Linked DNA regions of Homo sapiens: all the other regions are linked to region 1. Evidence: promoter capture Hi-C in 16 types of primary human blood cells and fetal thymus (Javierre and others, 2016). All regions are on one chromosome and are shown on one strand. Each heading gives the region's core, a stretch centred on a gene start or on the middle of the fragment in contact. The rest is flanking DNA. Distances are from core to core; before and after follow the strand shown.

Region 1 (2,825 bases), core at 84-2,583:
TGTTCTTTACTCTCCTTAGTTTAAACCCAAATTTGACTATGTAAATGTAATTTCATTTTGTTACCCCTTCCTTCATTAAAACAAAAATACCCTTCATGCACATGCAAAACACTCTACCCCACACTATTAAAACAGCAGAAATGAACACTAACAAAAGCCAAGATAAAAAATTTCCCCAATGTTGAATTTTTGGACTTAGTGTGGGGGTAGGAAAAATGGAGACATAATTCTGGTTCTCCCTTTGGCAGTTTTCAATTGCTGTTTCTTAATCTCAGTCAGAAAACACATTTCTCTGCCTCTCCTTTTGCCCCATTTCTACCCTCTCCTCCCTTGCCCCTGTGCAAAACCAAAGATGGGTTAAGAGGCAAGGCATAATGGAAGAGGAATGTTCTTTTCCTCCACTCCCACTTTCTTCTTCAAATTCTGTTTTGGGACCATCCTTCCCCACCCTCCCATTTTCATCTGATGGACACACTGTCTCTGTTGTCTCTTGTCATATTTGATTTTATGATATTTCATGTTTTATGTGCTTTTTTTTTTTTTTAGTAAATTCATGGACAGAGAATGTATCCTGGTAAACACTTAGATTAAAACAAATTTACATAGTTGATTACTATAAATGAAAATTAGTGACTCAAATTCTCCAGGTTTCTAAGCTACTTAGACTAAGCCAATCAGGTAATTTTTGCTACTTCTGGGCAAAATGTATCTGAATTCCTATTCAGTGGATTTGCAGGATGAAATCTAAGTTTACCTCTTTCATCTCTCATTTAAATGTGGAAAAACGAAATCAATAAAAATCTATATATGCTTATTAAGCATTTTAAGGAGGGTGTGAATAAGGAGTGAAAGCTTTGAGCAGTGACTACAGCAGTTTTTCGAAAGTCAAAACAATAACCAATGCCAATCAGTAGCTCTCTTCACCTCTCACACAATAATAGAGACAGGACAGGATAAAAAAGGGTTACATTTAAAAAAAAGTATGGATGTTAAACCATTGGAAATGGCACTGTAAATGACACCGGAAAAGATCGCCTCCAGGCACTGTGTGGAACTTTGCAAACTCGGGTCCTCACCCGAGGACCGCACGGCCGACCTCGGGGAGGCTCCACCCCAGAAACTATTTCATTGGCGCCACCTCTAGCCCACACTTCCCCTCTTCCGCATGCGCACAAGGAGCAGAAGCCGACCAGCTCGTCACGTCGCCTTCCCCGCCCCTAAATTTCCAGTTCCGATTGGTCTGTTTCATGGGACCGCCCCTCTGGCCCGACCAATGTGGAAGCCTCCTCGGGTGCTCCGCCCTCCCCGCAGGCGGCGTGCGGCTGCATAGCCTGAGAATCCCGGTGGTGAGCGGGGATGGCGGTTGTAGCGGCGGCTGCCGGCTGGCTACTCAGGCTCAGGGCGGCAGGGGCTGAGGGGCACTGGCGTCGGCTTCCTGGCGCGGGGCTGGCGCGGGGCTTTTTGCACCCCGCCGCGACTGTCGAGGATGCGGCCCAGAGGCGGCAGGTGGCTCATTTTACTTTCCAGCCAGATCCGGAGCCCCGGGAGTACGGTGAGCCCTGGGACTGCCCACTCGGTCCCGCTGCAGCCCGGACTCCCAGGCTCGCAGGCGCCCGCGAGGGGCAGGGGCCGGCAGGCTGCAATCCTTGCATCCCAGCTTATTAACTTCCTGACTCTCTGGAACCTCCTTGCCTCAGGGTCTAACTGTGGTTCACTTCTTGCTCTATTTTTGTGACTGTTCAGCCCTCGAGACGCAGTCCCCCCTCCCCCGCAACTTTGAGATGGGTGAGAGGGCATACTGCCACCTGGAAGAGCCTGAGGGTGGAGGGGTGGTGCCCAGGGAACGCCTCCCTTTTCTCTGTCCTCCGTCCTTGCTTTCTCAACCCAGGCCTTAGGTGTTGTTCCAGCCTGGCCAGGACTGGGCCACTAGCTTAGGTAGAGGCATTTAAAAGATATATATATATGTTTATATATATATATTTTAAATGTATATTATATATATTATATATAAAATATATATATGTATATAAAATCAATTCAGTTACTCAGTCCCTTGGTTTCTTCTTACATACAGAAATTGTGTGTATGTGTGTGTGTGTGTGTGTGTGTATATATCCACACACATATATATATGTGTGGATATATATACGCGCATATATATGCATATATATGTGCGCATATATATATATATGCATATATATATATGCACACATATATATGCATATATATATGCATATATGTATATATGTCCCTTGGTTTCTTCTTACCTACAGAATTCTGAGTAATTGAACTGATTTTCCCAAGGTCACAGAACAGGTCCTTCCTAGAGATGTGAAAGAATTCAGACTTTCTACTTGAGCTTAGTACTGAGCTTGTCCTGGGCTATGCTGCCACTTAGCCAAGGAGGTGAAGGGGATGAGAGGAGGAAGCCATAGGAAGGGCATGTAGCAAACTCCTCATAGTATGACTGTTGCATGATTTTTACCATTTCTGCAAGTTTCATGTAATGTCTCTCATCAGAATATCAGATCCAGTGTCTCTCTTCAGAATATCAGGAAACTGTAGGGAAACATGTATTGCTTCCTTGTCTAATAACTTCTCATGTGCATGCTAGAGCTGACATTTTTGGAAGTGTGTCTTGTGGATAAGAATGAACAGTTATTGAGTGCTTACCAGGGTCAGGTGCTGTGTGTATGTTTCATCATCTCATTTAAGGGTTAGGACAACCTTAAAAGGTTAGTAAAGTTTTTATTCCCATTTTGCAGTTAGGTTAATGGAGTCTTGAGACAGTTTGACCAAGATTACACAGGTAAGTTAGTGGTAGC
Region 2 (2,873 bases), core at 157-2,656, 1.6 Mb after region 1:
AATTTCAAAATTTGGTTCTCTGGAGTGGCAGATACTCTAACCCTCCTAATTTCCAGGAAGCTTCTCTAATAGACTTTATTGACCACAAAGTCAGTGAAAAAAACATATAAATGAATAACCGTACATAAAGGTAGAGAAAAGAAGGTCATTTCCCACCCCACTAAAAACTTCAGAATTCATTCATCCTGCCTCATACTCTACAGACAAAGAACTTGAGCTCAGGGATTAGGTGGTGTGACCCTCTTAACTAATTAGTGGCAGAGCTGACCCATACCAATATTCTGACTCCTACTTAAGCATGCCCCACCCCACTAAAAAAAACACTGTCTCCTCTTTTGGAAACAAAAAGAAATTCCTCAACAACAACTAAAATAAGGTGTTGTTTGAGAAAAAGCTATACCTATTTTTAGCTTATTGTTCCATGATACCTGTAACGTGCTACTTTTCAAATGGAGATATCTAAGGATGTGAGAGAGAAACATGACAAACATTTAAATCTGAGAAATACAGGCTCACCTTCAAAAATTTATAAAAATGTAAGCATGAAGTAATATAAACTCACATGACCCCAAAAATCCATGTGAGCATCACAACCTTTCATTTCATCCTGCATGTCAGTTTGAGCTAGTCTGTCAAATGCATAATAGGGAAATAATTTTCCTGAGATGAAGCAAAGATAAAGACTTGCTGCTATAATGAATTACCAGTGAGTATTTTCTGGACACAAAAACATTTTGAATCAAGGAATCTCACTTGCAATCTAAGACAGGTATCAAATTAAATGGCTTCATTTTAATAATATTAGTCAAGAGTTTTCATTTGTCTTACTCATCTACTTAAGGCCATATAACAAAAAAGGTAATTATACTTACAAAAAGGTAGTTAATATGAGAAAAAAAAACATAACCTAATGTTTCCCTGACCCTGAAGTGTCAATGTAAATAACTGAAGAGAATTTTTAAAAATTCTAAGTTATACATGAAAAAAATGATACCACTAGAGTAGCTGAAATCAGCTTTGACTGCTAGGACTTGGTATTCAACAGTTTTTCATAAGAAAAGTGGTATCTTAACTGGTAATTTCCAATTGCAAATAAAATACTACAGCTGGAAAAATATACATATTGGAATTCATAAAATTCCCATGAAAACAAGAGAGGAAGTCTTCTCCTTGCTTGAAGTCAATGTGGAAAAGACATTAGGAACTTTCATAATCTAAACTGAAGCCTGATATCTTTACCCTATTATTAATGTGGAAATAGTGACTTAACAGGTAAAAACAATTGCATAAGAGCCGTCTTCAGCTTATAAAATACTAAAGGCTAAGCATTCAAAAGAAGCACTAAAATATAATATTAGCACTACTAAACAGATGACATTTAGATAATCATTCTTTACAAATGTGAAGGAGGAAGTCATCTTTAAAACAATTATCACGAGGAAGTAAATGTCTATTTGAATAAGAAAAACTTGTCAATACTTAAGATATAGTGATCAGGACTATGATCGTCTAACCATAAAATACGTGAAATATATTCTTGGGTAATATAGGATGGAACCTTTGGTGAAAAAGTAATTAATTATTTTACTAATAACCCCTATTTTTTGACAATATTTCTTTCAGGAGTCTAGGAAAAAAATGGTGTTTTAAACTTTATAAAAATATCATGAATCCTCTGAAGGAAGAGGATACCACAAAGGAAAGATTAGTAGGTTATGAATAAGTGAATATTGCCCAATAAACCTAGTTGTGAACATCCCCAAATGAGGGAAGAAATAAGAAAAGAAAACCATATGTCTTGGATGACCTTTTTAGCAAACCTCAGGGAGACAATGAAAGGAAAAAACTGATTGAGAGGGGAAATAAAAACCTACAAAAATTGAGTCATGGATCTGACTTTCAACGGTAAGAATTTTTTTCCCCTCTCTGATAAGAACAATTTATTTCTATTTTACACAAATGTTCTATAAATAAGTCTACTTAATTCAACTTTTGCATACTCTTTCCATGTTCCTTACTCTACTGTTATCCTCTCAGTTACCAAATTTATGGATTAACTATAACTTTCAATTTCATGTTTAGTTTTACTGAACTCTTTCAAGCTGATTTCCATTTTGGTAAAAGAAACTGTAAATATGATTTTATTTTGCCTTTCCTTCTTCAAAGCATATCTCATGTTGGTAATGACACTATTAAACAGGAGCATCTTGGACTTTAGGAGTGAGATTGGTGGAGATAATCACTTTGTAAGATCGCATGGGAGGAATTATGACTTTTATGTTATCACCCAGTTTATCTCCTCCACTAGGCTGGGAATTCTATGAGGAAACTCATCTAACTTATTATTTGGTTGGTGTATACTCAAGAAATATTTGTTGATCATATTTTTAGTTGAGTGTTTCTTTATTTTCCAAAGACAACATGTCTAAATGGCTCTGATTATTTGACTATGAAGAACCACGTGTGTTCCAGAGCATTTATCTTTTGTTAGCTCAGCTACCTAACTTTTCACAGCCTAACTTTTCACAGCCATTTTTTCTTTTCCACACCATTTGTAAAGAACTGGTAGCTAACATATCTGTTTGATTGTTAAGATATACCTGTACTCCCCTAATCTATTCAATCAATTTTGGTTCAAGTCATTTTTATTTCAAGGAGAACCCTAAAAATCTTTCTTTATCCAGGAAGAAGTTGGTGGAAATACTGCTGGGAAAATTATTCCTCCTGAGAAAGCAGAATCAGCATTTCTCTAAGAAGCTTTGAGGTTCAAGGAACCAAATATGGCAGAGGAATTCACTTTTCTAACACTTTGCCATTTAGTATGAATAAACAAGATATACCAAATGGAAGGAGTCAAGAAACCCAAAGCTAAG
Region 3 (2,967 bases), core at 293-2,792, 1.6 Mb after region 1:
TCAATAATCTCTCCTTCACCTTCAGTGACAATATTGCATTGAAGGACATAAACTTTAGCTACTTTCTTCCTCTCTTTCTTAGTCAGAACCCCATATGTTGCCAAATCAACCCTACCTTTGGAATTAAATGAAGCATCACCCTACAGGACATAAAATTTGCATTCCTGCACAGTTACTCAAGGACCAGATGAAGCAACTAGAAATGTGAAAGAGGTAGTTCTACCCAGAGTGAATTTTGACCAGTGGGAAAAGGGAGACAGAGAGAAAGCAAGCAGGCAATTATTTCTCCTTTCTCTCCCCTGCATACTACTCCCAGGTACAGTGCTTCCTTTCAAGCCTTCTAGATAATTCCTTCCTGCTGACTGAACAAGCCTGCTGAATTATCTGATATGTTGTGTTATGGCTGTGATGCAGTAGCCAGCATGGTAGCACACTGTGTTGCAAGAGATTACATCTGTTCCTTACCTCAACATCCTGTGATGTGATTGTATCTGGAAAATAAACTATTAGAATCATAATCATTGCTTCAGGCTCGGCTTTCCAGAGGATTCAGGCTAAGTGACATAGATTTGACACTATTGGAACCTGTAAAGCAAGGGCTCTGAGCAGAGCTGTGCTTCAGAAACACTTTGTGAAAATCACAGGTATTTTTGCTTCACTCAAGTCTGACTATATAAAAATGGCTAAGGGTGGGCCTGGGCATGCATGTGTTTCTTTAAGTACAGTTTTAGAAATGCATGAACTAGTACAAGTTCAGAACTAAAATCCAGGCCCACTAACCTGATTCTCTGTGCTCCCATCCCTATGAACTATGTACCAAGTGACAAGAGAATTTTGGTGCCACTATGTACTGAGAAAGGCTTATGACATCATTAACTAGAAGTCACAGACTAGAATAAGAATTCCAGGGAACATGTCTGTGGTGGCATAACTAAACAGGTGTGATAAGCATACAGCACAAGAGGACTAATTAACATTTTAGGAGTTTCATGAGTTTATTCAGAATTTTGTAAGAAGTTAGCATATCTCATTATACTCTTTACCTTGCCTTTCAGACATTTTCTTTAATTTTTTTTAAAGATTCAAAAGCAGCCACCTGGTAGCATGCATTGCCAATAAGAAGCGATGTAGGCTAGACTAATTGATCACTTTTTAAAGATTAAGTGGCCCATTTTCTGTAATATGAATACAGAAAACAGCTTTGACAACACCGAAGTAGTTTATTGAATTTTGACTGTCAACTGAAAATTTAAATCATGCTTATTTTTCACAAGGTAATCCACTCACAATAGGCAATTGATGTGATCTCTTTCTGTAAGAAAAGCTCTCATGCTCTTCCTGAACCTTCTACTTACTGTGCTGTTATGATGCACCTGCCTTTTGGATAGATGGTTGATAGGAGATGGGTTGTTAAAGACACAATTTACCTTGTGTGTTTCAGGCAGAAATAGACTCTCTCTGTGTAATCACTGAATGAGTTCCAAAAGCCTTTATGTCTTACATACAAGCTCAGACACTCCAGAACTCATTTTTCTTAACTTAAAAGTGGGATAATTGTAATACCTTTTGTACCTATCAGGATTATTGTGACTATTAACTGGAAAATATAATTGTTTTATCAAATTGCTATGAATGTGTACCACTTCTGTTATACATTATATGGAAAAGCCTTCCATTGGGAAGTATTGGTCACATTGTATAACCATTCTTTTTCTTGGGGCCTGTACTACTTCATCTGGGCTACAACTGTGTATAGCTCAGATATCCTCCTGCTCTTGATATCCTCCTCTTTACAGATTTCTTCAAGTGGTTCTTGAAACCTTAAGTTTATTTAGAAGGCCTAAATCTACCTTCTTTCTAATTGGAACTTTACATAAAATTCTCATTATTTATTGTGAAATACATCCTCCTATTTCATTTTTCTCGATCCATCTCCCTCCTAGCCTCCCTTCTCATGTGAATCACGTGGGTTAAGTAGGTTGAAATTCTGGACAAGATTCAGAGAATTCACATTGGTTTTAATATATACAAGTAGCAAAAATTAGAGACTAATTTTTAAAATTTTTTGTAGACTTTGTTTTATCTATGAAGTCCAGCATACTTTGTCACATACCTAACTTTTTCAATAATTATAAAACGGCACCTAAAATCAGAAGCCTTATTGTGACAACATGCCATAGCATGGCAGGCACAAGGTCTGACAACACGGCAACATTCTGAAATTGGGAGACTCATGAAAAACCCATAACAAATGGGCACAACAGGTATAATGCCCCAGGGCAAGACTGTTCTATGAGGCTTGACCAGCTAAGGATGCCACTGGAAATACTGATTGCTTTTTAGAAAAGGCTAATGGGCAGACTGCCCTTTCTACATTTCCCTTCCTCAAATAACAAAGTGCATTTCCTGAATAGTAGCCTCTATTCTTACTCAAAATATAACAAACAGATCCAGTCTTTGTGCTCTATGTCTTGAAAATTTCTTTCAGGGATTCCCTAGTTCTGAGAAATGTAGCAGATGATTTAAAAAAAAGAAAGAAAGAAAGAAAGTGTAGTTACTACCCAAGACAACTGGAATCCTCACTTTACCAGGCTGCCAGATTTGGTTTGGAACAGATAACAGATCCATGGGTGCTAGCAGATATGTCCCTGAGTACCATGCCACAACAAACATTGTTTACCCATTGTTCTCAACTCCTCAAGCTCAGGAATCAAAAAGAGGCAACAGGTTCTTTCGTTCAAATACCCCTGCCCTAAACAACTCAGCTGAGAATATCTCTTTCATACTGTTCAGTGCTCCTAAATTGATTCAAAATTGGAATTTCTCCACCTGGGTTTTCCTCCATTCTTTTTCAACAAGCAGGCAATCTCTAAGATCCTTCTCTTATTTCAACAGTGTTCCTGATGACTCTTCCTTCACCATTTTAACATCTTCTTTGATATGTTCCCAATATTTCACCTCACCTTT
Region 4 (3,106 bases), core at 283-2,782, 1.6 Mb after region 1:
TCTCCTTATTTTTACTATTTCAACTGATTTTTCTGTCTGTATAACTTCCAATAACCTCCATTTTTAACTCTCATTTGAGCTCCAAGCAACATTCACATTTGCTTATTTGTTAGTCCTATCTAACTATCTCATTGGCATCTCAAATATCCAATATTGAACTCATTAACTTCCTTCCAAAAAGAAGTTCTTCCTCATGAGATTTCTAATAGTATAAATGAAATATCTTCTATTTCTAAGACATCTCAAAGTCACCTTTGATTTTCTTCTCTCCTTTATTTTCCTCTTTCAGTAATTGTGCAAATCTTTGTGGTATTCTGTCTCTGCAAATGACCTTATGCTATTCACTCCCACTGCAGTGATTCAGGTGTCATTATTTTTCTTTACACTTTTTTTTATTAAGTATACATACAGAAAGACACACAAAATATACATCTTTATTTGCAATGGATATATGCAAGTGAATAAATCCAAATATCCAAAACCAAGATCAGGAAGCTGAATTTCACCAGCACTCTAGGACTCCCTTTGTAATCTCTCTCAGTCTCTACTGCCCATAAGGGTAACCATTATCCTAACAGCTAATAACAGAGATTGTCTTTTTGCTGGTATTACTGAGATGACTTCTGAACTGAACATCCTGCCTCTAGAATCTCTCCCAATCAGTTACACTTATGGTCACCACAACTTTCTTCCTAGTGTACACATCTGTTGATGGTATTCTTTCCCAGATATCCACTCGTTCTTCACTGGATCACAGAATGAAATCTAACCTCATAGTATTGCATTCAGTGCCTCCCCACCTCCTCGTTCAATCTGGTATACCCTTCTGATTTTTTCCATATCATTTGAAAGATCTGAGCACTAGTTACCACAAAAGGAAGCTAATTATACTGATTGAATATCAGTTACTGTCACAGTAATGACTTTAGTCCATGTAACATACATGGTTGATATTTGGGGAAGGGTAAGGGGTATTATGAAAAAAAGGGAAGTGCTTAAATCACATTTCCTCCTTTACATAGTTATAGAATAGGTCTGTATAAACAAAATAAAATGTTAGTAATTAGGTAAAAAGGGTCAAAGATAACTATTTTGTTCATTTGTTCATTCATTCAGCAATCGTTTAGAGGCATTATTTATAGGGTAAGATGAACATGCAGATGCTGCCACAATTCCACAATATACCTGTCTTCACTTACACAGAGGTCTCCATTCTCCTCTGCCAGTGGTTTGGCACCTATGGAAATGCTAATTTCATTTTAAAATAAGCAACCTCTTGAAAGAGCCATATTCATTTGCAAGCCTGTCTCTTGCCAGATATTCAAAAGCAGGTGCAACGGGGTCAGCTACCTCTGAGATATAAACAAAAGGTTTCATGTATGAGTCAGTGTGACCTTTACCAGCAGAAAACAGGAGGACCAGAGCTGAAAGCAGCAGCTTATGTATTTAGTTAATCCAGTTGCATGAATAAGCAGAGTGTAAAAGGTACAAGTGTTTTCAGTGAATGTAGATTAAATGTGGGCCTCATAGGGTTCGTTTTCAATATTCATAGATGAAACATATTACTCAGGCTAAAATTTCTTCTTCACGGACTCCTACCTCATGGACAGATGGATTCAAAGAATTATCATATTTCTCTATCTAAAAGTTGAGAACTTTTCACCCAAAAAAATTCATCACCTATATAAGTAGATTTTAATGAGTCAAGTCGTTCAAACAACAAAATAATCTTTCTTTTGGCAAAGTAATAAAAAGTACTCTGTTCTTTTAATAATTTGGAATTATTTCAAATACTTTCCTCATGCACTTCAGTGATTCTTCTTAAACCTTTCTGCAATTTACCTTTTCAAAATAAAAATTCTTGTTTAAAACTTTTTTTTTTCTAATTTCTTCTAGGAGGAAGACTTCCTATTGTAAATGCACATCAGCTAGTTTCAGAGAAAATTAAGCAGTGTTTGTTTCTGCTTGTGTACATTAATACTTAGAAATATCCTAGAAGATAATGAACTTAACTTCTCTTGGCATAAAGTACATAAACTGTGAGGAGTGCAGTCGAGGAGCTCTAGTCTAGTTTTCCGGACTTAACTGACCATACAGTTTTTCACTAGCAGATTTTTGGCACTAAAAAAAATATTGGTAGCAAGATTTTATCCCAAGAGAATTCAAAATATATTTAATTGCCAACAGCAGCATTAGGCCCATTTTGCCTTCTCTACAAATGACTTGCACAAAACAGACCCCCCTTAATCGTTCATTGAATACATTCACAAACTGCATGTATACATGTGTATACATATGTAAGTACGAAATGCTCAGGCCCATGCTGCTTGACATGTCATTGGAAAGAGGCCCACAGTGATCTGAGGACATTTTATAACCACCCCTGTGAGTTCTCCGGACTAACATTCATGTATAATGAGTAAGCATATGCTCCAATGCTTCCTCTGGCCATCATTCTGACAGCCCTCAAAGGTCACTGAGGTCAGTACGTATTAAAAGAAAACATTCTCAAATCAGGTCTGTCTTTCTCCTCCTGCCTATACTGTTGATTTCGGGGTCACCCGAGTGCCTTGTCCTTGGAATTGAGATGACCAGAAGACTCTGTTACCCTCTCATAGGACTTGGAAAACCCAAGCCCTGCTGAGGGGTGCATTAGATTTTCCTTTATGTTTTCTGAGAACCAATTAGATTTTCCTTTATGTTTTCTGAGAACCAATTAGATTTTCCTTTATGTTTTCTGAGAACCAATTAGATTCTTCTGAAGCCCCAGGAAGATTTTTTGTTCATATTTATGTAGGGTGGTCTTATTTTCTGTAGATCCTCTCACAAGAGAAAAGTGGACATTAATAATTAGGCTTTCTACCTTTATCTTTTTGGATGCACTTAACCACAGGACTTTTGTCAAAGGCCTTTGCACAGGTGCAAATCTCTGTGACAAAATCATACATTAATGATCCCTTTTCATTAATTTTGTAAATAAACTTTCTATTGTCTTTATTTTAAAAACTACATACCCACAGAAAAGTGTTCATCATAATTGTACACAGAGTTAACACCCATGTATCTGCTCTCTTTTTAATCACTATTCCTCCAAGAGTACCAGCCA

What was found. Contacts are between HindIII fragments. The CHiCAGO score rates a contact against its expected background, and 5 or more counts as called.
Region 2: a contact is called between a fragment that was not itself captured here and the fragment with the promoter of BCKDHB in region 1, in 4 of 17 cell types (total B cells, neutrophils, total CD4 T cells and 1 more). The highest score is 9.5, in total B cells.
Region 3: a contact is called between a fragment that was not itself captured here and the fragment with the promoter of BCKDHB in region 1, in 7 of 17 cell types (neutrophils, monocytes, naive CD8 T cells and 4 more). The highest score is 9.7, in neutrophils.
Region 4: a contact is called between a fragment that was not itself captured here and the fragment with the promoter of BCKDHB in region 1, in 1 of 17 cell types (neutrophils). The highest score is 5.5, in neutrophils.

The regions. Positions count from the first base shown.
Region 1 is chr6:80,105,338-80,108,162 of GRCh38, forward strand. BCKDHB (branched chain keto acid dehydrogenase E1 subunit beta) reads left to right here and starts at 1,334. Exons shown (of 10, transcript NM_183050.4): 1 at 1,334-1,552. The coding sequence starts at 1,357. RefSeq lists enhancers at 1,130-1,630, 1,597-1,676 and silencers at 1,217-1,416, 1,447-1,546. The HindIII fragment of the contact is 20,612 bases long and covers 851-2,825 here.
Region 2 is chr6:81,716,559-81,719,431 of GRCh38, forward strand. No RefSeq gene overlaps it. Among named protein-coding and RNA genes, the nearest start is that of TENT5A, 35 kb to the right of the region's middle. The HindIII fragment of the contact is 2,697 bases long and covers 59-2,755 here.
Region 3 is chr6:81,735,785-81,738,751 of GRCh38, forward strand. No RefSeq gene overlaps it. Among named protein-coding and RNA genes, the nearest start is that of TENT5A, 15 kb to the right of the region's middle. The HindIII fragment of the contact is 6,057 bases long and covers 1-2,967 here.
Region 4 is chr6:81,695,332-81,698,437 of GRCh38, forward strand. No RefSeq gene overlaps it. Among named protein-coding and RNA genes, the nearest start is that of TENT5A, 56 kb to the right of the region's middle. The HindIII fragment of the contact is 7,622 bases long and covers 1-3,106 here.